Linked DNA regions of Homo sapiens: regions 1, 2 and 4 are each linked to region 3. The links are contacts of gene promoters, found by promoter capture Hi-C in blood cells and fetal thymus (Javierre and others, 2016). All regions are on one chromosome and are shown on one strand. Each heading gives the region's core, a stretch centred on a gene start or on the middle of the fragment in contact. The rest is flanking DNA. Distances are from core to core; before and after follow the strand shown.

What was found. The method cuts DNA at HindIII sites, captures the fragments that hold promoters and counts their contacts. A CHiCAGO score of 5 or more calls a contact.
Region 1: a fragment that was not itself captured here is called in contact with the fragment with the promoter of GLRA2 in region 3 in 4 of 17 cell types (M0 macrophages, M1 macrophages, erythroblasts and 1 more); the score reaches 12.0 in M0 macrophages.
Region 2: a fragment that was not itself captured here is called in contact with the fragment with the promoter of GLRA2 in region 3 in 2 of 17 cell types (neutrophils and M0 macrophages); the score reaches 7.0 in neutrophils.
Region 4: a fragment that was not itself captured here is called in contact with the fragment with the promoter of GLRA2 in region 3 in 1 of 17 cell types (neutrophils); the score reaches 5.0 in neutrophils.

What each region holds. Positions count from the first base shown.
Region 1 is chrX:14,076,636-14,083,286 of GRCh38, forward strand. No RefSeq gene overlaps it. Among named protein-coding and RNA genes, the nearest start is that of GEMIN8, 50 kb to the left of the region's middle. The HindIII fragment of the contact is 1,912 bases long and covers 1,430-3,341 here.
Region 2 is chrX:14,959,733-14,966,581 of GRCh38, forward strand. No RefSeq gene overlaps it. Among named protein-coding and RNA genes, the nearest start is that of MOSPD2, 90 kb to the left of the region's middle. The HindIII fragment of the contact is 5,898 bases long and covers 1-5,295 here.
Region 3 is chrX:14,525,478-14,532,183 of GRCh38, forward strand. It overlaps GLRA2 (glycine receptor alpha 2), which reads left to right and starts at 4,059. Exons shown (of 9, transcript NM_002063.4): 1 at 4,059-4,648. The coding sequence starts at 4,581. The HindIII fragment of the contact is 5,355 bases long and covers 510-5,864 here.
Region 4 is chrX:15,018,115-15,024,952 of GRCh38, forward strand. No RefSeq gene overlaps it. Among named protein-coding and RNA genes, the nearest start is that of MOSPD2, 150 kb to the left of the region's middle. The HindIII fragment of the contact is 278 bases long and covers 3,011-3,288 here.

The DNA.
Region 1 (6,651 bases), core at 1,136-3,635, 450 kb before region 3:
TCGACTTCTCAGGGATAGGATTATAGATAATTTTGGGAGGATTGTCTGTTTCTGTATTTTTTGGAATAAGCAGGAATTAATCTTGCAAGTAGAAAAACATTAATAGAAAATATAAAGTGATGCCTGTTAAAGGAAGAAGATTGTGGAATTAAAGAATCTTTGGGTAAATTAGAAATATTTCAAATGTATAGTATACACCTGCACAGTAAAACTTGAAGCCATTTCTATTTTTCTGTTTATCCATCATCCATTTATGTTTTCTCCCTTGTCCCTTCCTCTCCCCCCCACTCCCTCCCCATATCTATCTATCTATCTATCTATCTATCTATCTATCTATCTATCTATCTATCTATCTATCAAATTTCTGTATCTAGGTACATGTAATTTAAACAGCTATCTAAGATAACTTAGGAGAGGTTTTTATATTCTAATAAAGAAGCTAATCATTATTTTGCCATCAAGTAAATAAGAATCATCATTTCCTCCCAGTTACGCAGAAACTGGACTAGTTTTATTTTTTTAGTCAAACTTTTTATTTTGGAATAATTTTGTATTTACAGAAAAGTTTCAAAGATAGTGCAGAGAATTCCTGCACAAACTTCACCCAGGTTTCTGTAATGTTAAAATCTTATATGGCTCTAGTGCCTTGTCAAGACAAAAAAATTAACAGCACTATGTTACTGTTAACTAACAGTAACATAAGAGTTTTTATGGGTTTCCACCAGTTACCCCACTGATATCCTTTTTCTGTTCCAGCATCCAATCCAAGGAATCACATTACAATTTAGTGAACTGGTTTATTTTGATTTAGTGAAAACTTCTTAGAGTGGACTCAATCTCAATTTTGTGAATTATAAAGCACCAAATATAGGTGAAGTATTTGGCTATTCTTTATTAAATTATTAAATTCCTGTTAGTGGGCAGGGGGTTTCCAAGGGACTCCCCTACTTATGTTTTCATGCTATCTATCCATGATGTCTGGCCTGAATAAAGAACTTTAAAACTTGCAAAACATTTTTACTAATATTATCTCTGTCACCCCAATGACTCCAAGAAGGAGGCAAGGCACATATAATCTTGATTTTTCCCATTTCACTGATTAAAAAATTGAAACCTGGAGACATGTGCAAGCTGTGCAGTCACACAGGGTCTTGTGCTTAGAAAAGCCTTGTGTTTAGTTTAATGTTCTCTTTCAACCTTTTTGAAATTCTTAATTATTTATGAGCAACGGGCCCTGCATTTTGATTTTGCACTGGGTCTCACAAATTATGAAGCTGGTTCTGCCTGGAGCATTTGCCTTGCTTACACAAGGCTACATAGAATTTGTGCAGTTGGGTGGATTTTAGTGCTTCCTGACTTGGAGTTTACTCTAATTTCTGGTACACTGCAACATATTTCCATCAATCTTGAAACCTGTAACTTGTATCCAAGCTTGTAATCTGTTGACTTAATTTTCAAAAACTTGACTTTCCTGGCTCTGTACCAATACCTCAGCATTTTTGCATGTAATTTTTGCCTTGACAACTTTGGTTTCTGTTTTAAAAAAATCTAAAAACTTGCTTACCTGTGGGTTAGACAAACTGCTCTGCTAACTTACGTTCATAATAATATCCTAGCTGTGGCTATTTCCTCAGCAGCTATGGATATCATATTTATTAAATAGATTTAAAATAAAAACTACTCTATTTTGTTTCTGAGTTTGGCTAATTAGCTCATGCTGCTGTTAGGAATGAACTGTGAATTATAACCCCCTTCCTGAAGGGGTGATATTAATTTTTCTGCAGACATGGAAACATTTGGCTAAACAGTATGATTTTAAAATCTGGGAGAACTGCTTGGTGGCCAAATAGTCAAAGTAATGCTTAGTGGCCCAGATAGCAAATCCACATTATTCGTGCTGGCCCATGAAGCCCTTGATAAAATTTTTTCCACAGTTCTTTGAGAGAGATGAGGGCTTCTGCCAAGTGAGGACTTCACCCTTGGCTTTATATCACTAACAGAAATAGTGGTTTTTTTCTGGGAGCAAAGGTCTGGGCTGACCATTCTGCTTTAATTTCAGTCTCATAAAGATCTGATTATATTGGCATTGGTTGTCCAGTAGTTGGACATAGTCATGTTTGCATTTAGTTTACAGATTCAATCACAAGAATTTAGGAGAGAGAGAGAAAGAGAGAGACCCCCAAATCCCCGAGATGGGATGTTGGAATGGGTTCAACATATTTTACATGTGGAAAGGGCATGAATTTTGATGGGCAAGAGGGTGGGATGCTATGAGTTGAATTGTGTCTTCTCTAAAGATATGTTAAAATCTAACATTCAGAATCTGTGAATGTGACCTTATTTGGAAACACGGTCTTCACAGGTGTAATTAAGTTAGGAAGAAGTCATATTGGATTAGGGTGGGCCCTACTCCAGTAACTGGTGTCCTTATAAGATGAAGGAAATTTGGACACAGACACCGGAGAGAGCCATGTGAAGACGCAGGCAGAGATTGGAATGGCACATCTATAAACCAACGAACACCAAGCGTTGCTGGCAAGCCTCAGAAGCTAGAATAGGTGAGGCGGGACCCTGTCCTAGAGCCTTCCGAGGGAGCGTGGCTCTGCTGATGTCTTGATTTCAGACTTCAGTCTCAGGAACTGAGATAATACATTTCTGATGTTTTAAGCAATCTGGTTTGCAGTACTTTGTTATGGCAGCCCTAGGAAACTAATACATATTGTAAATGAGGAAAAAAAAAAGATTAAGTGAAAGTCCAAACAGCCCGAATCATCCTATAAGTATGAATGTAAAAGACAGTGCATCCTTTAAAGTTTTTTCTTCCTAATTATGATTATTGTAAAAATTGGGAAAATAAAAAGCAGTATAATTCCTTTACACATATGAAAAGTACTTTGATCCCTTTGCATATAGCATATTAGTATACACTTCCTATTTTGTTTTCTGTTCTATCTCTAAAAGCATATCAAATTATATATGCAATTTTGAAAGATTTCTCTTGAACTTAATATGCTAGCATGAGCGTTTGCAATACTGTGAAATGTTCTTTGAAATATCTTTTATATAGACTGAAATTATTCTTTGTATGGATATATCATATTCCTCTGGAAGGATGTACCATAGCTTATTTAACTACTTCTATGTTTTTAGACATTTAGGTGAAATGTCTTTAGTCTTTTTTAAAATGAATTTTTGACCAGGTTGCTGATTTTTCCCCTAATAATAGATCCCCAAAATGGTTTTATATTAGAAGTAAACACACACATGCACACACGCATATAACATACTTAATAGCTTCAAAACCAACAGAGAAGGAACTTTTCAACAAATGATTATATGAAAGCTTGCCACAGCCAGTCTAGGGCTGGTTAGTTAGCAATGCTCCCAGGTACTTCTGGGAAATTTCCCTCATTCTAGTTGCACAGAACTATGACCAGAACAGTACTTAGACCAGGCTGATCTGGCAGACTGCAGACATTGGGCATGATGAATGGGGTTTGTGTTCATGCCTGAGTGTTCTGTATTATTCTTTGCTCAGTAACCAAATGTAAATCATATGACTCCAAGATAGATGAGGGGTATCCTGGCTGGGATGAGGCACTTACTGGTACATATCTAGACTGGCCCTCTTGCTGAACTGGTCTTGTCTATGCGTGTAGGAACAAGGCACAAGACATGTCTAAAACATCAGTTTCTAACTTGTAAGAAATGGATAACAAATTTAATTCACAATATTACTTCAAGCTATAAAATATCTACATTATATCAGATAGTAAGAGTAAGGAACTTAACATTTTGTTGAAGGACATGAAACAATACCTAAATAAATGAAGAAACACACCATGTACTGTTGGGAAGACTTAGAATACTGACATTCATTAATTATTAAATAATGACATTATTATATAAATGTCATTATTTGCCAAGCATATGTAAACGCAAAATAATTCCTATCAGAATCCAAATGAAGACATTTTTAGAATGAGAAAAATTATAGGCAGAAGAAATGATAGTTGCCAAAAAAATTTATGTTTCAGAAGAATAATTGGGGTAAGGATCTTGTGTTATCAGATAAAACTTATAATAATTCTATGGTAATGAAAACAAAATGTCAATGGCATAAGAAATAATAACCAGGACAATGGGACATAGAACCTCAGCACATATCCAATAATATAGAAGTTAATCTTGGAAAATCTGGCACTATAATTCAATAGGAAAATAAATAATTATGTTGGTATAATTTTGCTATCCATTTGGAAGGAAACTAATATAAATGCCTACCTTATACCATTTATAAAAATATATACCTGGTGAATTAATATAGCTCAATGTGAAATCAAATCTTTATGAATATTAGAAGAAAATTTAGAAAAATATTTGTTTCTGTAAACTTGTGGGTGAGTAGAGATTAGGAATCAAGTTGGGAAACTTAGAGGGAATCAAGAAAACGATCAATAGATGTACAAACTTAAAAATGTTTCTTAATGCAAGAATGTATAATAAAACAACGAGAAGACAAATGAACTGGGCCAAATATGTGCAGTCATATGACAGGTAAAACGTTAATACCTTCAATTTACAAGGAACCTGCACAAATACATTGGAAAAATGACACAATAAAAAAGAATGTTCATATTTATAGAAAAATGCAAATGGTTAATAAATGAAAGGTGGCTTAATCTCCTTAATATTCAAGGGAATGTGGATTTGAGAAACAACCTTAACTTGTCCAATTGCAAAACCTAAAAGATTGGTAACATTCAGTATTAGTAACAATTTGCGGAAACAGACATTTGTGTATTGCTGATGGGAAGGTGAATGAAAAAACCTTTATGGAAAGTTATCTTTTAATATTTGTCAAAATTTTAAAAATGGATATGTCTTTGATCTAGCAACCCAGCTTTGGGAATGTATCCTATTAAATTAAACATACCATAACGTAAGGTATATGTATATCCAGGCAGCTTTTTCTTGTAGCTGTAAACTTGGAGACAACTTGAATGTTTCACAATAGAAAAATGGCCGTTTTCATTGTGCAAATTCTTAGTGTGAATTATTACTAGAAAAATTATGTATATTGACCTGGAGAGATGGAGTGATATATTACCAAGTAAGGGGAGAAAACTGTCTTCAGGGGAAGATGTAGAGTATAAGTTTTGTAGAAAAAAATAGGCCCTCTTTCCCACATACATGTGTTTGTATGCCAGCATGGTGAGAGATGTAGCAGAATATGCCTTAAATTATTATTGGATTCCTCGGAGGTTTGACTAAATTAGAGGGTAAATTATCTGTGTCAGGAATTTAGCACTGTGTCTATTACAGTCAACATTTTAAACAAAATATGTCATAATTGTGCTTTAAATACCAATTTATAAACATTTATTATAAAATAATATAAAATAGCATTAAATTTTTAAAAAGAGAAAAAACCTGATTATATCAATTTTTGAGTACTTCCCTATGTCTTTCTCTGTATATATACACATGCATTTGCATCACATATGTATATATATATCTTTATTTACTTAACTGTGCATTTTTCATGGTATTTCAAAATCTCTTGTATTATATATTTCTTTAGTATGATAGTTTTTAATGGCCAAATGGTATTTAAATTGAAATATTGTGACTTTTTTCAACTATTCTTCTGTTAGGCATACGTTATTTTTAGTTTTCTTCTACTTTGATTATTGATGCATAAACACCTTTATGCTTACTATTTGTTTTCTGCTGATTAATTTAAAAATATACTCCTTAGTGTATAATTACTGTTCAAAATATATAGGAATGTTTATTGGTCTTGTTACACACTGCCTTAGCTATAACATTTTGCATCAGCTATTTGAATTGAGATTCACTGTAATCCTTTTCTACCTGTGGGCAAACTTTCTAAAGGCAGATCCGAAAATAATTTGCAAAGTGCTGCTTTTCACTCTGTTTTACTGATAACCCATCATAACGACACATGTTACCACTTGTTTATCACAACTAGAAAATTTAAATATACCAAAGTGCCTGTATAGCGGGAAGGATCTTTTAAGATGAGTTTGACAGAATTATTGAAAATAATAACAGTAATTTACGTTTATCTGGTACTCTTCCTCAACAGGATGATTCCATTTTCTTTTTTAGTATAATGGACTGATACATGTTTTCTTATGCTGTTTTGCTACTACCTTTTCTGTACACATCATTTAAGGAACAGTTCTCACTTGCCTGAGTTACAATAGCTTATCTCTCAGTGGAAATTTGAGAAAACAACTAGAGCTTCTGTCATCGACATTCTCATTAATCCCATTTTCTATGTTTCTGATGTATCCCTCTATAGTAGGCTCTCTTTGGTATTTAGGGGGAGATTCCACAAACACCTGCAAGTTTTCAGATTCCCCTCACATCTCTTCTCTATTGACACCCCTGGGATTGAGGATTCAGGTACTGTACTCTGATGTTTTTGTCTGTTATAGATACTCAATTTCACCCATGATGTTTTTGTCTGTTATAGATACTTAATTTTACCCGTGGGTCATGAATCCGCATTGCTTGGCTGTTTTCTATTGCCTTTGGGGCTTATTGAGTAAGTGTTGACCTTGTTCTTATCTCAAGATAGAATTCCTACCATGGATATCTAATAGTACTACAGATATTTTC
Region 2 (6,849 bases), core at 1,097-3,596, 430 kb after region 3:
ATTTTTCTGTAGATATTTTACTACAATGACTCAAAGATTTCCCTTGTAAAAGCCCCACAACAGTGCCAGAAGCCAGCTTTGAGGCATCTCTTCTCATCAACAGATTAAAGCCAAAGTGAGAGGCAAACTTTTATGCAAAATGAATAAAAATAAAACAAAACCAGGTTAGGTAGGAAAGGGTTATTACAAATGTTTTGACACATTCCGAGCCAGTAGCTCACACTCCAATGTCTATTCCACTGGTTTACATGCCTTTCTGTGAGATGTCATTTCTTTTTAATTTTTTTTTTTTTTTTTTTTTTGAGACGGAGTTTCGCTCTTGTTGCCCAGGCTGGAGTGCAGTGGTGTGATCTCGGCTCACTGCAACCTCCGCCTCCTGGGTTCAAGCGATTCTCCTGCCTCAGCCTCCAGAGTAGCTGGGATTACAGGCATGCACCACCGCGCCCAGCTAATTTTGTATTTTTAGTAGAGATGGGGTTTCTCCATATTGGTCAGGCTGGTCTCGAACTCCTGACCTCAGGTGATCTTGGCCTCCCAAAGTGCTGGGATTACAGGTGTGAGCCACCATGCCTGGCCTTAAATTTTTATTTTAAAATTATTATTATTTTTTTTAAAGGTTCAACCTCAAAATTTTTACTTGTTATGGGTACATAGTAGGTATATATATTTATGGGTTTTAAAATTTTAATTTATTTTTTTCTTTTTCAATTTTTTTTTTCTTTTAGAGACAGAGTCTTGCTCTGTCACTCAGGCTGGAGTACAGAGTTGTGATCACACCCCATTGCAGTCCTGACCTTCTGGGTTCAAGTGATTCTCCCACCACAGCCTCCCCAGTAGCTGGGATGACAGGCATGTGCTATCATGCCTGGCTAATTTTCTTATTTTTTGTAGAGACAGGGTCTGGCTATGTTGCCCACTGGTCTCAAACTCATGGCCTCAAGTGATCCTCCCACCTCAACCTTCCAAAGCTCTGGGATTACACTCATGAGCCCCCATGGCTGGCCTATGCCAGCTTCTTAACAAACACCAAGTATCTGGCCTGGGATTATCAGGAATCTCTTTTGTGGTTGATTTGACCTCATGGGTCCTCAGATACAATATCAAGTTGAATTGAATTTTATGTTTAACTCCTTTCTTGGAGGTTCCCCTCTCTCCCTCATGCATCAGCAAGTGAGCAGGTGATGGACATTTTGGTACTGCCAGGAGCATTTCTCCTGACTTAATCAGGTGCAAAGTGCCACTAAGTTTCTGTGGCTCATGTCACCCTTCAACTGACTGCTTTCAACGGATGTTGGCAAGAGGCAGACATCATGATAGAATCACACACCCTAATAACTCTCTCCAAAGCTGCACTCATTGGCCACCAAGAACAAGAAAAGCAAGACTCCATCCCATGGAAAATCTGTTATGATAGACAGCTGGACCCTTAGAACAAAACTGGTTCTTCATTAAAGTTGGAGTGGGAAAGATATTACTGGCAAAAGTTGAGCAAGGTTTATAACAAAGTACAGGTAGAATTATGCCATTCTTCTGCATAAAACCATCCAATGACTTCCTATAGTACACTTAATAAATCCCTTGGCAGGCCCTTCATGGTACATCACATACCAGGCCACCATCCACTTCCCCAATATCAGGCCTTTCCCTGATTTCTTCATTCAGTTTTTTTGGGGACAATCTTGGCTTCCTCGCTAAGATTGTTCCTGTATCATACTTGTATTTTATGGTCCTTCTCCCTGAAATTCTCTCCTCCCAGGGGATGCCCCCTTCCTTATAATTCAGTCCTCTGACCACCATTGATTCACAGAAAGGCCTTCCTAGATTACCCCTTCTCAAATGCTCCCACCCCTGATATCTTAATCTCTCTACACTTTTACCCTGCTTTATTGTCTTCAGAGACCTTAACCCTATCTAAAATCACATTATTTATTTTAACCTGATTACAGTCTGTTTTCTCCACAAGAATATATGGTGGGGCCTTGTTGATCTTGTTTACCTCTGTATCCCAAGCATCTCTCAGGGTATGGCACATAGTACATGTTCAATAAATATTTGCTGAATACTAAATAGATGTGAATAGTGAAATATATATATATACACACACACACATATATATACATATATATACATATACACACACACACACACACATATATATATACATATATATACATATACTAGACAGCATGTGCTATTATTTAACAATTTCAACCCATTTTCTTCCTCCACACACAGGGACCACAGGAAGTTTGTCTAACAATTTAAGAGGTCCAGTGTTATAATATGTGAATAAGATGGTGTTAATATTAGAACACAGCTAATTTTTTTTTTTTTTTTTTGAGACGGAGTTTCACTCTTTTTGCCCAGGCTGGAGTGCAATGGTATGATCTCGGCTCTCTGCAACCTCCGTCTCCCAGCTTCAAGCGATTCTCCTGCCTCAGCCTCCCTAGTAGCTGGGATTACAGCCATGCACCACCATGCCTGGCTAATTTTGTATTTTTTTAGTAGAGATAGGGTTTCTCCATGATGGCCAGGCTGGTCTTGAACTCCCGACCTCAGGTGATCTGCCCACCTCAGCCTCCCAAAGTGCTGGGATTACAGGCGTAAGTCACCACGCCCAGCCAAAACACAGCTAATTTTTAAGCAATGGCTCTATTACCGTTTTTTTTTTTTTTTTTTTTTGTGAGACAAGGTTTCATTCCTGTCACCCAGGCTGGAGTGCAGTGGCGGGCTTTCAACTCAATACAACCTCTGCCTCCCAGGCTCAAGAAATCCTCCTGCATCAGCCTCCCAAGTAATGGGGACTACAGGCATGCGCCACTCCCCCAGCTAATTTTTGTATTTTTAGTAGAGACGGCCGGTCGGGGGCGGGGGGGATGTTTCGCCATGTTGCCCAGGCTGGTCTCCGACTCCTCCCCTCCAGTGATCTGCCTGCCTCAGCTTCCCAAAGTGTTGAGATTACAGGCATGAGCCACCGCGCCCAGCTCTATTAGCTTTTAATCATGATCAAGTCTCTTTCGTATGGAAAAAAATAAAAAATTCCTTTAATTCCATTTCTATCTCACGTTCACTCCTAGAAACTGCCCCCTTTTCCGTTTCCTTTAAACTAAACTTTGTGTCTGAACTTCTTTCATCATTTACTCATTTCCCAGCACCACTTTTGCCAAAACAACTCTCAATAATGCCATCAGGAACTCCATCCCACAGAAACTTTTCTGCTTCTATCCCTTCCCTGTGGAATACAAAAGAAGCGCCACTATATGGAAGCCTAGACTAACGGTGCCCAATTTCGACTCATTGTGCACTGATCTAAGTAGAAAATAAAGGGAAATTTGAGTACCCACCTACTGTTATATGTTCGGTTATGTATTTATTTTTAAATTATATGCTTATAGTATAGTTTAATATAGTATGTACATTACAAATAAAAGCAAATTTGCAAATTAATATGAAAAAGGTGAAGAAAAATAGATACTAAATGTCTTGCTAATTAGGATGCTTCATATTTTAATTCACTAATATCTTAAACATGATAGATGCTTAACAAGTTCCATTCTTAATCATACTGTATGAAAACCCTTATTTCAGGTAATCTTGATGATTTTAAATTTTTCTTAGCTGATTTTTCATCAGCTTTGATTGATTTTCATTACTCATGTGACTGATGTAAATCTTATTTTCTCTCTGATGCTTGCATTATTAGTATTATCTTATTAATATTATTGTTTACTGGTATCTTTCAAAGCCACTTATACATTTCAGAGATTTAAGTCAGTTACCACTAGATAATACAATCTGTAGACAGACATTTGCAGAGGCCATCTGTCACCATACACTGATAGCAAAAAAATGAAACTAGAGGCACCACTGACCATTCCTCCTCATTGTGGGATTCCAGTACTCTCTCCAGATGTCTCATGGACAGGACAGATGGAAGGAATGAGGGGGCCAGTGTAAGCCCTTATGTGACGTACTAGAAAATCCTGTTTCCCTTCCCTTTTTTTTTTAGAGAACAATAATCTTAAATAGAAGTTTGAATTTTCCCCCTGAACTATGATCTTGAGAAGTGTGTACTCTAATTTGCAAACCTGTAGTCTAAACCAGGGGTAGGCAAACTTTGTAAAGGGCCAGAAAATAACCATTTTCAGCTTTGTGAACCATGCTCTCTTTGTTGCAACTACTCAGCTCTGCTGCTGTAGGGCAGAAACAGCCATAGCCAATACATGAATAAACAAGCACTGTGGTATAATAAGAAATAGATTTGGTCTCTGTCTCCAGTTCCTGCCACAGAGCTCATAAAATCCTTGGAATTTCCTGAGTAATAGGAGTGTCTTTTGTGAGTCATAAAGAGCCCCTTTTAATCAGACCTGAGTTTACTCTAATGAGGTGACTTAGGGTGGGGTCCCTAGATATCCTCAAGATGGGGCTGGTTGGTCACCAGAAAAACCAACTGATTGGAAATTTTACCCCAGCCACAGACTTCTGGGAAGGTGAGGAGGGAGCTGGAGATTAAGCTCTATAAAAACTCTTGAAAAAAGAGATTTGATGAATGTCAGGATTGGTGAACACATCAGGGTACTGGGAGGTTGGTGTACCCAGAGAGGGCACAGAAGCTCCATGTGCCCCCTTACCCCATAACTTGCCCTGTGCATCTCTTCCATCTGGCTCTTCCTGATTTGTATCCTTTATACTAAACTGGTAAACATTAAGTGAAGTGCTTTTTTTTGAGTTCTTTGAGCCACCCTTGCAAATTATCAAACCTGAGGAGTGGGCCGTGGGAATCCTCAATTTATAGCTGGTCGTCCAGAAGTGTGGATGGCTGGACTTGTGACTGGCATTTGAGGTGGGCATAGTCTTATGGGACTGAGCCCTTAACTTGTGGGATTTGACACTAACTCCAGGTAGTGTCAGAATTGAGTTGAATTGTAGGACATCTAGCTGGTGTCCAGAGAATTGCAGAATTATTTGGTGTGGGAAAAAATCCACATATTTGGGGTCAGAAGGGTTGTGTGAGTGTAGAGAAACAGTGTTTTCCCACAAGCATAGCTGTTGTTCCAACATTGCTTTATTTACAAAAGTGGGTGGCAACCAATGTGGCCAATAGCTGTAGTTTGCCCATCTCTTGGTAAGAACAGCAAAAACCCAGATTCTCACAGGGGGAATTTGACACAGAAGAGCCTTGCTCCCAATAATGAAAGAAATAGTACAAGATGACAAATGCTTTTAGGTTCAGAGAATTCTAAATGTTGCTAAGGGTTAGGAAAGCAGGTGCAGGCTTCCAGCTCATTAAATCAAAGCTTTGGAAAGTAAACCACCAGGTCTCAAGATTAGAAAGATTTTCATGGTGTGCATTAGGTTGAACTAGAAGAAAGTGCTGATATTTGACCATTATTGACAAGCAAAAATGGCAACTTCATATGACTGAACTTATTTGCAGAAATAATACTAACGGTTAGGTTTAATTGAGTGCTTACTATATTTTTGACACTGGACCAATATTTTGCATGCATTCTTTTACTTATTTCTTATATCAAATCTGTAAGGTCACTACTATTATTTGCACTTTCCCAATAAGGAAATCAATAGCTGTTTACATACCCTGCCCAGAATCTCACAGCTAGAAAATGCTGGAATAGAAAATACTGTAACTGAACTTAGGCTTATTGAATCAAAAGTCCTTCCTCTTAGCCATCAAAAGTTTTCATGTTTAAAAACAATTTTTTTTTTGTAGAGATGGGTGTCTTGCTATGTTGCCCAGGCTGGTCTTGAACTCCTGACCTCCAGCAATCCTCCCACCTTGGGCTCCCAAAGTGCTGGTGAGCCACTGCTCACAGACATGAGCCACTGCACCTGGCCTGAAAGTAATCACTTTGGAAAAGTGAGGTTATGAGTGAAGAAGAAAAAGGGCACAGTATTATTTTGATGCACTATTATACAAATGAGCCAAATATGACCTCTGTATAATATGACCTCTGTATAATGGCCCCTATGTTGACCTCTGTATAATATGACCTTTGTATAATGGCCCCAAATATGACCTCTGTATAATGGCCCCTATGTTGCTTACTTCTTCACAGAGTGCTGAGAGGCTACAAGTGCCAAACTCAAATTCTTATGCATCCAGTTATTTTAAGTATAGCTCTCCACAAGCATATTTTATAGCATATTTTATATCAACTTATATATCTCCATGGTTTTATTTTTATATTTGTATGCAGGAGAATAACTTTATTACAATGATTATTTGCTTTTTTAAAGTTTTTTTAAAATTATACGTTAAGTTCTGGGATACACGTGCAGAACATGCAGGTTTGTTACATAGGTATACACGTGCCATGGTGGTTTGCTGCACCCATCAACCCATCATCTACATTAGGTATTTCTCCTAATGCTATCCCTCCCCTCGCCCCCCACCCCGACAGGTTCCAGTGTGTGCTGTTCCCCTCCCTGTGTCCATGTGTTCTCGTTGTTCAACTCCTACTTATGAGTGAGAACATGCAGTGTTTGGTTTTCTGTTCCTGTGTTACTTTGCTGAGAATGACGGTTTCCAGCTTCATCCATTTCCCTGAAAAGGACATGAACTCATCCTTTTTGTGGCTGCACAGTATTCCATGGTGTATATGTACCGCATTTTCTTTATCCAGTCTATCATTGGTGGACATATGGGTTGGTTCCAAGTCTTTGCTATTGTGAACAGTGCTGCAATAAACATACATGTTCATATGTCTTTATAGTAGAATGATTTATAATCCTTTGGGTATATACCAGTAATGGGATTGCTGGATCAAATGGTATTTCTGGTTCTAGATCCTTGAGGAATCGCCACACTGTCTTCCACAATGGTTGAAC
Region 3 (6,706 bases), core at 2,809-5,308:
ACACATCCTCAGGTCTGATTTCACGTGATTTTCAAGAGTATTCTACATAGAAATATTTTATGTAACATATGTGTTTATGTAATTATGTAACACTTTATGTTATATAAATTTTATATATTATGAGAATGACACTGAGAGGGATTAAATGACTTGTCCAGTCACATAACCAATGAGTGTTAGAGGTAGAACTCGAATCAAGGATATTGAATTAATAATCTCTTACTTTGAATTTAATTTTATGCTTTAGACTGCTGCGCCACTGAACTTGGTTTCCTTTCAAATAATCACAGATCTTAACTTGTTAATTCCCTAACAAGTAGTTTTTTGAAAGAACTATTTGTGGACTATACATATGTACTTATATTATTTTGTTTAAGCCACAAATTTCTGGTATATATTTAAAATTATATACTAGTTATCATCAATACCATTATGATGATTGTCATTATCATTGAATGTATGGGGATATAATGGTGGACCAAAGCATGTACTGTCTCTGTCCATTGCAAAGCTTGCTACATAAGCAAACAGTCATACACATGTATACATACAATGATGACGAGCTCCTTGAGTCAGAGTTGGAGAGCACTATGAAGGCCTGTAATAGAATTGTTAGAGTAATGCAGGTCAGGAAAGGCCTTCCAGAGATTTGAAAAATAGGCTGGTGTTAACCAGACAAAGATGGGGGACATGATATACTTCATGAACAATACGGTAAGCATTAGGGAGTAAGAAAAAAGACCAATATGGCTACAGGGGAAGAAATGAGATGATTAGTGGATGAGATGAGGAACAATGTAGGCATGGGCCAAACCATGTGGAACCTTTAGGTCATTGAGTAGTTTCCTTGTTCTACACAAATATCAATGGAGAACCATAGTATTAACCAGGGGCTGTGACATAATCAGATTCTGATTCTGAACAAATCACTCTGGTTTCAGCATACAGGATGAGGTAGTAGAAGACCAGCTGTTGGTTCAGGTAGATTAGTAAGAGGATGGCTGCAGCAGTACAGGCAAGAGATAAAGATATCTCAACTGGGGTCATGGAGGTTGAGATGGAGGGAAGTGAGAAGATTTAGGAGAAAAAAATCAATAGGGCTTGGTGAAGAACTAGATATAGTGGATGATGGAGATGATGCCTTGGCCTTTGGTTGGTAACAATGAAATAGACACAGTAGAATAGGAGTAGGAGTTGGAGGAATTATCAGAAGTTCGGTTTTGACATGAAGAGTTTAAGCAGCTTTTGAGACATACATTAGGAATTGTTTAGAAAGCAGTTGGATGTATAGGTCTGGGTAGAAATATACATTTCTGTGTCATGTACATAAAATGATAATGGAAATTATATTACCATAATATTTTCTAAGCGAGTGTACTGCAAGAAGAGGAGACAGCCTAGAATATAGCCTTTAGGAAATCCAACTTTTATAGGCCAGGTAGAGGAGGATATGCCTGCCAAGAAGACAGAATAGGAGGTAATCCAGGAGTGCACTGTGTCACAGGGTCAATAGAGGGAAGTGTTTCCAGGAGGAAGAAAAGGCCAATGACATTAGGTACCATGGAAATGTCAAGTAAGATGAGAACAGAAAAATGTCTTTTGGACTTAGTTACAAGAAATTCACTGGCAGACTTAGTGAGAGCTGTTTCTGTGGATTGATAGGGCTGGAATCCAAATTTAGGAGAGCTGAGAAATCAAATGAGGAGGCTAAACTAGATCCTCTCTAATGTCCCTTACAACTCTACAATAATATAATGCTGTGATTTCATGCTGCTGGCCTGAGTCTCCTTTGTCACAGATTTCCTTACTCATCCTATTCCTGGTTAATAACACAACTCTTGTTAAAAGAAATGATTCGGCTGGGCGCGGTGGCTCACGCCTGTAATCCCAGCACTATGGGAGGCTGAGGTGGGCGAATCACAAGGTCAAGAGATCAAGACCATTCTGGCCAACATGGTGAAACCCTGTCTCTATTAAAAATACAAAAATTAGCTGGGTATGGTGGCATGTGATTGTAGTCCCAGCTACTCAGGAGGCTGAGACAGGAGAATCGCTTGAACCCGGGAGGTGGAGGTTGCAGTGAGCTGAGATGACGCCACTGCACTCCAGCCCGGTGACAGAGTGAGACTCCATCTCGGGAAAAAAAAAAAAAGAGAAATGATTTACAAAGACTATATTATTTAAGCATCGTTACAACCTTAAATTTGAGAGAAATAATTTTCTTCTATCTTTATACCTAATTTTCTTTTGGAAAGAATCTTGAACACAAAAAAATCTGTGCTATTTTTCCATGTAGAACCAATTGAAGAAATATTTCCAGGAATTGATTTTATATATTTTTTTGGGTCAGGACAGCAGGGATAAAATCAGGTCTAGAGTTTCCATGTGGATGAATTTGGAAGTGAACAGATTTGAAGCTGCAGTCCAGGGATGTCTCACACTACACCATACTGTTTTTCTTTTAAATTGAATCATTTTCTCTAGGCTTTGAAAGTTAAGAAAACATATTTGAAGAATTGATTTTGTATGTAAATAGAATGCTTGGGCACTACTGCATTTCATCTAAAAAGAGATTCCTGTATTTTCACTGTCTTACTGGGATAGACATCTTATGAAAGGGCATATAGACTCTTGCTACTCAAAGTGTGAACTGTGGACAAGCAGCATCAACTTCAGCTAGGAACTTCTTAGAAATGCAGAATCTCAGGCCCCACCCCAGACCTACTGGATCATAATCTGCATTTCAATAAGATCCTCTGGTGATTTATATTAACATTAAAAGGTAAAAAGAACTTGCCATCTTTTTTCTCTGAATCTACTTCTTAAAAACATAGAATTCATTGTTACTCTACTATGATATTTAAACTGATCCAAAGTTAGTCATTTACGGAGTAAAAATTAATCATATTATTTTGTTTTAAAATTAAGACCTCCAGTAAAGCACATAGGTGACTAACAAGGAATATTCCACAAAAAGTAGGTTACTCTCCTAGCTTATGGTAGGACATGCATTTTTCATTCCCCCTTCCCAGAAGCTGCTAATTATCCGCATTGGACTATCTACCCTTCCTCTTTTTTATTAATAATAATATTTGTAATTTTGATTTGAAATAGCAGGGTTACTCGTCAGACTTTTGTACAGATTTATGAACTTCCACTATTTTCAGTCCCTTTAGCCAATTTAGGAGAATAGCATATGCACTTTATTACATGACTGTTCCTAGTGATTAACATCTGGAATGGGCAGATGAACTAAACTCCCAGTTGCACTTTTCCTTGCTCCATTTCTAACATGGAGCCCTGCTCTAACCTTTAACCATGGCAAGAAAAGATTGCTACTGCCCCCTGCCGGCCCATTGTCTCATTTCCTTTTCTACAAATCTGTGACTTGCGGATGCCCAAGGATTTTGAGCCACTGAAGAAAGCTCAGTTGGAAGGGGCTTTCCCTAGTACAGAGGTAGAGAGATCCTTTGGGACTAGGCGGCTAAAATCAAATGAAAACATTAAAAAGGCGAGGAAGGCATAAAGGACTTCTAAATTAAATTATCGATCTTCATGAACCTTCTTCTGCACGCGGGCTTCTCTGTGCCAAGGAAATGTTCCCTTCTCTTCGGCACAGGACTCCTCTTTGCCTCCGGCTTGCACTGACAAAGAGTGAACTGTCCACACCCTTATTATAATTTCAGTACTCTGAATCCTGTTCTCTGTTTCCCCCAATTTCGTTTTCCCACGATTAAACCTTATTCCCTTCCCTTTTCTGCTTCAAATTCCCGTCCCGCCCACCCACCGACAGCCTAGCATTTCCAGGAGCTCAGACCCCACTTCCCTCACCCTCTCCGTCTCCCGACCTCTCTTCTCCTCTTGCTGTCATCGTACCCCCTTCAGTATCCCCTCGCTGAACGGCCAGTCACTCTTTGCCTTCGAACAGCAGGCACGTCCCCTCTTGAATGCTTTTCCCCGACCCCCGCCCCAAGCAACTGAAAAAGGAAACATGCGCACTTCAGAGCTTGGAGCTGTCCGAGTGCTGAAATTTATAGGCTGGGTAAGATCACGTCTCCGTCTCATTCTATAGCCCTCATTCCAGCACAGGATCTCAGCAATTTTTCCCTCTTCCCCCCACCCACTCCAGCGCGCAGAGTCCTTTCTTCTCTCTCATTTACAACTTCTTTTTAAAAGAAAACATTTTCTAGAAAAAGGGCTTTGCTAAACAGAAAAGATATAAAACAAAAGCCACAGCTATCTAGCATGGCATTGTCACCAACTCCCTTTGCATGGTGATGCGATTAAGGTAGCAGCATTTTTATTATTCAGGAAAAGCAGCTGGGGGATTCATCAGTTCTGAGGCTTTGTCTTTCTGGGTTAACTGATGGTCCCAAGCCTCGGTTTGACCTGACCATGATGCCCAGGACTGGCACTTTTTCTTTTTTCTCAGCAAACTGTACAAAACCAAATCTCTTTTTGATTTTCAAGGAAACTAGGTTCCTGCCAAATTTTGAATCTGGACAATAAACAGACACTTTGTCCTAGCATCTTTCTGGAATCATTTCGGGATATTTTCCACAAGCAACACAGAAACAGGAATGAACCGGCAGCTAGTGAACATTTTGACAGCCTTGTTTGCATTTTTCTTAGAGACAAACCACTTCAGGTAGGTGAAACGACTTTGCATGTTGATATTTAAATTGTTTAAAAGAGAATGTGTCATGTAATTGTGTATTTATCTGTGCTCTGGACTATATTATTTTAATTTTATAGAGGAAAGTTAGATATCTTTTGTTCATTTAAAACGCCTAATAATTGTGGGAGGGTGGTAAATTTTTCACAAAAGCAAGTTTTATGATGCATAGCCGCACTCTATGCAATTCAACACACATTTTCACAGCCAACGTGATATTAAGGTAGTCTGATGAGTTGCATGCTCTTTACATTTCTATATAAGGGTAATTATTTTTCTGAAAGTAATTTAAAGAGATTATTGGGTGCAGTGTTTTTCATATAAGATGATTGTATTAATTTGGCAGGAGCATGCTCATTTTAGATAAAATATAAAAGATCCCTAATTCTCAGCCAACTTGGGACTTCTGTTATATTTCAGAAACTAGAAGCATACTATGAGGACTACAATTCAGGAATTTTCTTGAAATATCAAAAATTTCTTTTTACTACTATATTCTACTATTCAATCTGTTTGGAAATGGATTGCCTACCAAAATTTAGTTAATATGACATAATTGTATTTATGTACATATGAGAAGTGGAGCATGCATAATTTTAAAAAGTGAGAAATTACTATTTTCATGCTTGCATTTTCTACATGGTTTACGAATAGTTGCCAAATCAATTGATACCTCAAAATATCAAATCATTACCAGTAAGTGAAATAGTCATCTAATAACAGAGAGTGGAAGACTGAGCAGAGACAGGAGATGCTCTTACAACAAAGTATAGGACTCTAAATTTAATTTTCATTAAATTTTATGGCATTTTTTCACAGAACCAAGATAAATGGAACACATAGTAATAATGCTATGAATACTGGGAAAACCCACTATGTTCCTTTCAGGTTTACACCTCCTACTATGATTAAGAAAAAATATAGGCTGGTTTTTATTAGAATCATCATCATCATCATCATCCTCACCACCACCACCATCATAATCAAATAATACTTGATTAATCAGATGAATCTGCATATGAGAATGTGAGTATTTATGCATGCTCATATCAATTTTTAACTCCTACAAAATATTTATATCATCTTTGCACTTATTTTGAATACCCCTTCTTTGAAAAGCTGGCAAGAATGTGGTATTTTCTTAGTGATAGAATTCATAAGACACTATTTGTTAAACTATTGAAAACAAAGCTTATAAAATACATACTTTAGGGAAGAAATTTCAGTTAACCACTATGTATTGTGAAATAATTAATTTTGCTACAAACCAAATATGCTATGTTTAATAAGCTCTTTATTACTTTTAACAGGAAAATGAAAATCTGAGAAATTTTTCACCAACTTTCAGTGTTTTGGTGATAAAAAGTCAAAATGATTTAGAAGTGTGTTTTCATCAATATTTTTTAGAGAGTCAACAATTTAAATGCTTATATAAGCATTTAATATATAAGCATATAAATAACTGATAAAATAATAGAAGTCATATACATGCTCATTGTTGACCTATTTTAAAAAGAAATGAAATGTCCAAATGAAGGTTCTCTTTTAGATATCACATTGAAAAATATTAATAGTTGATAGTTGGATTAGAACTAGCAGATGGGAAAAATAAGCAATGAAATAATAAGTTTGTTCTGCCCATCTTATTATATATTTCTTATAAAAGGTAGATGACTTATATTTAGGGCCGAAATGCTGAAACAATTTTTTTAAGTCAGATAGAAATGATTTTAAGACAATCACATGAATTTAAAAAAATATCATCTCATTTCTCTGAATAGTTTTAACTATATATACATAAAATCTACAACCTAAAACTAAATACATTGTCTGTTCTCAAACATCTTATGGTTAAAGTTTGGAAACCTGGGTGACGCGACTCAGGATTTATAGTTCTCATCATTTAAAGTTAACTTTAGAACATGTACAAGTTCAGAAGTTGGCCAAAGAGTTTGGATTTTTCTAGTTTTCTTCATACTAACATATCAAATATCTTTACCAAAATGTAAAGTTAAAAATGCAGTGAGCGTT
Region 4 (6,838 bases), core at 1,900-4,399, 490 kb after region 3:
GAAAACCCAACTAACATGAAGACATTTACTATTTGTTACATGAAGTCTGTTGGTAGGTGATCCAGGACTAGCTCGGCAGTGTAATGATGTCATCAAGGAGCATGCCTTTACCTTCCCTGTTTATATTGGCCCAGCTCTAAATATAACATCCTCAAGACAATATCCAAAGCAGGAAGTGGAGGGATGAGCGAAAAGCATTTTCTTTACATAGATTTGAAATTTTGCTTCCCCAGAAGCTCCCCTACAGACTTTCCATTCCATTTCTTTTGTCACACTGAGTCACACACTCATCCCTCAACATATCGCTGACCAAAAGAGAATAGGATTGCTTTTATGGTTTAGATCCGTCACGGTTTACCCCCAAGTTATGGACTCAATTTTACCTAAGTAAAATTAGGGTTTTGATAGGTATGAAAAAGAGGGAATTGTCTTGAGTAGGCAGTCATAGATGTCTATCACAGGCCTATTCTCATAACTTTTTTTCTAAACACGATAGTCAATATTTATTGAATACATTCTAAACACACACAAGCACACACACAATACACATGAGGTTTTATGAAGAGATTGCTGCTGTGGTTGCTATGGATATTGCCTGTTGTTACTAGCCAAGGAATAGAACTGTGCCCTCTTCATTATTTAGACTGCCCTCTTGGGAATAGTCATGTTGTAGATTCCACTGTACAATGTTTTCATCACCTAATAATCAGTACAATTCAGCCAAGTATCTAGAATTCAAGGGCTATTTGACCACAGGATTAGGAATCTTTGTCTATAAAATGTATTCAAAACAACTACACAATACCATTATGTGGCATGAAGAGAGCTAAAAATCCCTTTTTCTCTGCAGTCTCTGACCCTTTCAGAAATTGTATAGAGTCACCACCTCATTGCATCCTTTCTTGTTTCCATGATTATCATAGTGCTTACACATTTAATTCTCTAATCGCCTTCATTCATTTTAGTTTGTTCCCCAATCATTTCTTCCTTTGCTCCTCCTTGCATCTTTCTCATCTTTCATCAACCATCTCAGAGTTCCATTTTGTGCCCTGTATCTTTTGGCATTTGTTATTCACCAACTTCTAATCTGTCAAAAAATAGTAAATACAAACACCTACATACATGCTTAATGCAAGATGACTCATGTTTATGACAGGAATGAAGAGGATTTATATCAATGGAGAAAAGCACCCAGTTTAGTAACATGTGCCCGGCAATTAAACTGCCCAGCTTTTGATCCCCTCCCTATCACTTATGAGGAATCTTGGGAAAGTTTCTTAACTTCTCTGGGCCTCAGATTCTTTATTTGGAAAACAGGAAAAATAACAGTACCAACCACATGAGGTGGGTATGAGATTAAATAAAATAATATAAAAGCACTTAACAATCTCTGGTGCATATTAAGTTCTCAATTAATCCTAATTATTATTATTATGTCTGCATATAGGAGTGCATGAGAATTAATAAGGCCTTTTTTTTGATATTGTCTTATTTTGTCCACATAGAATGAATCCATATATTACTTTTGCAAAAAATAAGTAAAGACAAAGATGAGTGGATTTTTAAGTTTTTTAAAATCTGGAGAGTTGGGTTTAAAATAAATAAGTAAATAAATGGCATTCCTATGAGTAGACTGCACTTGAATAATAACCTGGTTATCTTCCATAACCTCAATATTTCCCATATGTTCTATGTAATCAGCATTACCTCTACTCTTATTTGAGGTATGAATACCCGTAGTCTTTGACTGTTGTTAGCTTATGATTTGAAATAAAGTCATATCTCTTATAGGAATTTCAGTAACGAGTGTATTCTTAGATAAGTACAATAAAATCTGAACAGTCCTGAGAACTTGATAACATTGAGTTTTTACTACAAAAGGATGTTCATTTTTGGATCCAGACTCCCAGGACTATCATTAACCCAGAATATCTTACACATTTTTTAAATCACTTATGCTTACAACAAAGCCAATTATAAAATCATGAACTTTGCTAAGCTTTCCAGACTCTAGGATTCCTCCATGTGGCAATTATAAACAAGACATTGCCTAGATGCCTGGGGTCCTACAACAGTCATCTAGGTCTCCTCATATCTTGGTCCTGTGGTTCTCTTGGAAGATCACATAGTGATGAACTGAGAGAGCAAGATGACTTTCAATTGAATTGCTCTTCTATCATTCACATCTCCACTCACATATTATCTTCTATAGAGATGCCTTGGACTATAAGCAATAGACAAACTAACTCAAATGGATTAAATAACAAGGGAACGTATTTACGTCACATAATAAGAAGTCTGGAGGTAGTGTGGCTCCAGAGTACACAAATTAAGTGATTCAGAGATTTCTGGGACTAAAATTTTTTTCTATCTTTTTGCTTTTCCATCTTCAGTCTTCCCTCTCATAGTTGCAAGAAGCCTCTAGCTTCACTCCAAGTGAAGCTCCAAGCATCACCCCTCAAACATCTAAAGCCTGAAGGAGACAATATATTCTCCTCATATCTTTGTGTAAAATGGGGGACAATGGTTCCAGAAGTCTCCAGCCAACTTTCCCTTGAATCTCATTGACCAAGATTGCCTCGCTGTCCCAGTCCTAAACCAATCACTGGCAAAAGAGATAGAACCACCGCAATAGGCTCAAACCAGTTAAGATTTAACCCTTGAGGTGCAGATGGGCCTGCCTTTCACTAAAGCATATGGACACTTGCTTTAGAGGGAAACCAATATTCTTCAAGCAAAGAAAGGAGTGGTAAGGTCTTGTGGAGCAATGAGCAGTGCTATGTAGACCTTCCATGACCAACCTAAATTTCACCCCACATCCTCAATTTCTTCCTCACTATCTTGCTCTTTTTTTCCTTTATAGTTCTTATCCCTTTTAAAAACTGTATTATTTGCTCCTTGTTTATTTTCTTCCCCCATCACTGTAATGTAAGATCTGTGTGGGAAGACAGTTTGTCTGAAGGTGCTCAATAAATGTTTGCTGAATGAATGAATGGTGTTGTCCAACAAAAGCTTCCCAAAATGGTCTTTGTAGGGATAAATTCCAGAAAAAGTGGGATAGTGGCAAGGAGGGAAGAATTAAAACAGGCAGGGTGTGAGACAGACTAAGATAGAATCACAGTTGCTTTTCAGTTTATTGTCTTACCTTCAGGCAATTCTATATCTAAATTCAGCTTCGCAGCTTTAGGGAGGCTTCAGCTTTAATCAAACCATCCTGGATATGCTTTGTGGAATGTAACCTGATAGAAACCTGACTAATTGTTGTTATTGTGGCTCTACCCAGAACAAAGCTTATCTTTTCTTTGCTAGTGAACACTCAAATTACTTTGGTCTTTTGGTCCACATCCTTGGACAAATATGGATGCTGATAACACATCGTATTTTCATTTCCTGGATTTACTACTACTGTAGAAAGAGGCTGTTTTGTCTCTTGCTGAGAATTTCCACAAATAATATACCAAAGAATGTTAACCACAGATTGAGTACATAAACAGTAAGGAGACTATAGAAGATTCCTCAATCATGGGATTTACTTTACAATAAAGATAGGGACATGATAGTTCACACCTACCAAATGTAATGACTGCAATTCCTAGAAAATAAAAGAGATAGAAAAAATGAACATTAGCTGGGTACAGTGGCTCACTCCTGTAATCCCAGCACTTCGGGAGGCCAGGGCAGGAGGATTTCTTGAAGCAAAAAGTTTCAGACCAGTGTAGGCAGGAAAGTGACATCCCATTCATATATATATATATATATATATTTATATATTTATATATATTATATAAATATATATATAATTGTATAATATATATTATATATTCATATAATATAAATATAATATATAATATAATAAATATATATAATATAATACAATAATATAATATATATATATATATATATATATGTATACATATCCTACTCAAGCACCATTGGATCTGCTGGGCCATATTCTTGGGATAGGAAGAATTAAGCTCAGAAACACTTAATTTGAAATTTTAGCGGGGCACGGTGGCTCACACCTGTAATTCCAGCATTTTGGGAGGCCGAGGCAGGTGGATCACGAGGTCAGGAGATCGAGACCATTCTGGCTAACATGGCGAAACCCCATCTCTACTAAATATGATATTATAATATATATCATAATAACACATATTATATTATATTAATATATATTATATATATATTTATATATATATTTTATATATGTAATTCATATATATAATATATGATATAAGATATATAATATATATTTATATATTATATATTATATATATTTATATATATATTATATATTATATATATTTATATATATATATCCACCTCAAGCACCATTGGATCTGCTGGGTCATATGGCCCAAGTGGCAGAGCAGCTTGCACAACAGCCTAGGCCTGTTGCAAAGCCTTCTCCTGTTCTGGACCCCACTAAAAAGTGGGTGGGGTCCAGATAAATGGGCAAGAATAACACACCCAAATGAGGAATGTGTTGCCTCCAAAATCCAAATATATATATAATATATATAATATATAGTATATAATATATACTATATATCGTATATAACATGCGATATATACTATATATCGTATATAACATATAAGATATATACTATATATCGTATATAATATATATACTATATATCGTATATAATATATATACTATATATCGTATATAATATATAATATATACTATATATCGTATATAATATATAATATATACTATATATCGTATATAATATATAATATATAATATATACTATATATCGTATATAATATATAATATATAATATATATCGTATATAATATATATTGTATATAATATATAATATATATTGCATATAATATATAATATATATTGCATATAATATATAATATATATTGCATATAATACATAATATATAATATATTGTATATAATACATAATATATAATATATAGTATATAATACATAATATATAATATATATTGTATATAATACATAATATATAATATATATTGTATATAATACATAATATATAATATATATTGTATATAATACATAATATATAATATATATTGTATATAATACATAATATATAATATATATTGTATATAATACATAATATATAATATATATTGTATATAATACATAATATATAATATATATTGTATATAATACATAATATATAATATATATTGTATATAATACATAATATATAATATATATTGTATATAATACATAATATATATATAACATATAATATATAATATATAATATAATATAAATTATTAATATAATATATATTATATATAATTAATATATAATATATTTGACTAAATATATATTATAAATTATCTAATAAATTATGATATATAAATTATTTATATATTTATATATTATATAAATACAAATATATATTTATACAATTTATATTTATATTTATATAATATATAATTATATATATATTTTTATATTATATATTATATATATTTTTATATTATATATTATATATATTATATATGTTTATATATAATTAATGTATATTTATATATTATACTTATATATAAATATATAAATATATATATTTATATATTATAGTTGTATATAAATATATAAATATATATTTATATATTATAGTTGTATATAAATATATAAATATATATTTATATATTATAGTTGTATATAAATATATAAATATATATTTATATATTATAGTTAATATAAATATATGAATATATATTCATATATAATATATATAAATTATATATTTTATACAATTATAGAATGTATAATATGATAATATCATATACATATTATATTATTATATTATATTATTGTATTATATTATATTATCTATAATATGTAATATACAAATAATCTATAATATAATGTAATACATATTATATATTATATATTTATATATAAATTTATGTACATTTTTATATATAGAAAAATGTACACAAAAGGCAATTTATTCTACTTTATAGAAAGTTTTAAAGGATATCATTTCATGTTTTCCACTCAAATAGCAGCAGGCAATGATATACTCTTATTCATCTCTTATTTTTTCCTAAGTTGTGAAATGAAGATAAAATATTTCAGTGAATTAGTGCAACTGCTTTGCAATAAGATCACCTTGTTACCTTTCAGGTCTCAGCCTCAAAAGAGATTTCTTTAGAAAGTCCTTCCTGACTGTCCTATCTAATGTTATCCTCTCCTGTCCTCCCCCATCATATCATCTTGTTTTATTTTCTTGGCATTTTTCACTAGTTGAAATCATTGTTTATTTACTTCCTAATTTATTTGTTGTCTATCCTCTCTTGCAGTAGCCCTTGCACCCAGACAAGCACTTTAGCACATGGCAGGTGCTCAATCGTTATTTAAGGAATTATGTATTCATCAGCTGGCTTTCTACACATTGATAGTAATTGCCCTCTGAACACCCTTCCCTTATCATCTTTCTCCTTGTTTCTGCTGCCTTTTATAAAGATATTACCTTAAACATCTTGTGAGATGCCAATTCTTTAAAAAGTTAAACAGAGAATTGCCATATGATCCAGCAATTCTACTCCTAGGTATGTATCCAAAAGAAATAAAAAAATACGTCCACACAAAAACGTGGAGCATTATTTATAGTAGCCAAAAAGTAGAAACAACCCAAATGGCTATTAACTGATGTATGCATGAATAAAATGTAGTCTATCAATACAAAGAAATATTATTTGGTAATAAAAAGGAATGAAATACTAATACATACTACAATATGGATGAGCCTTAAAAATATGCTAAGTGAAAGAAGCCAGTCACAAAAGGTACATACTATATGACTCCATTTGTATGAAACATCCAGGAAAGCAAATAT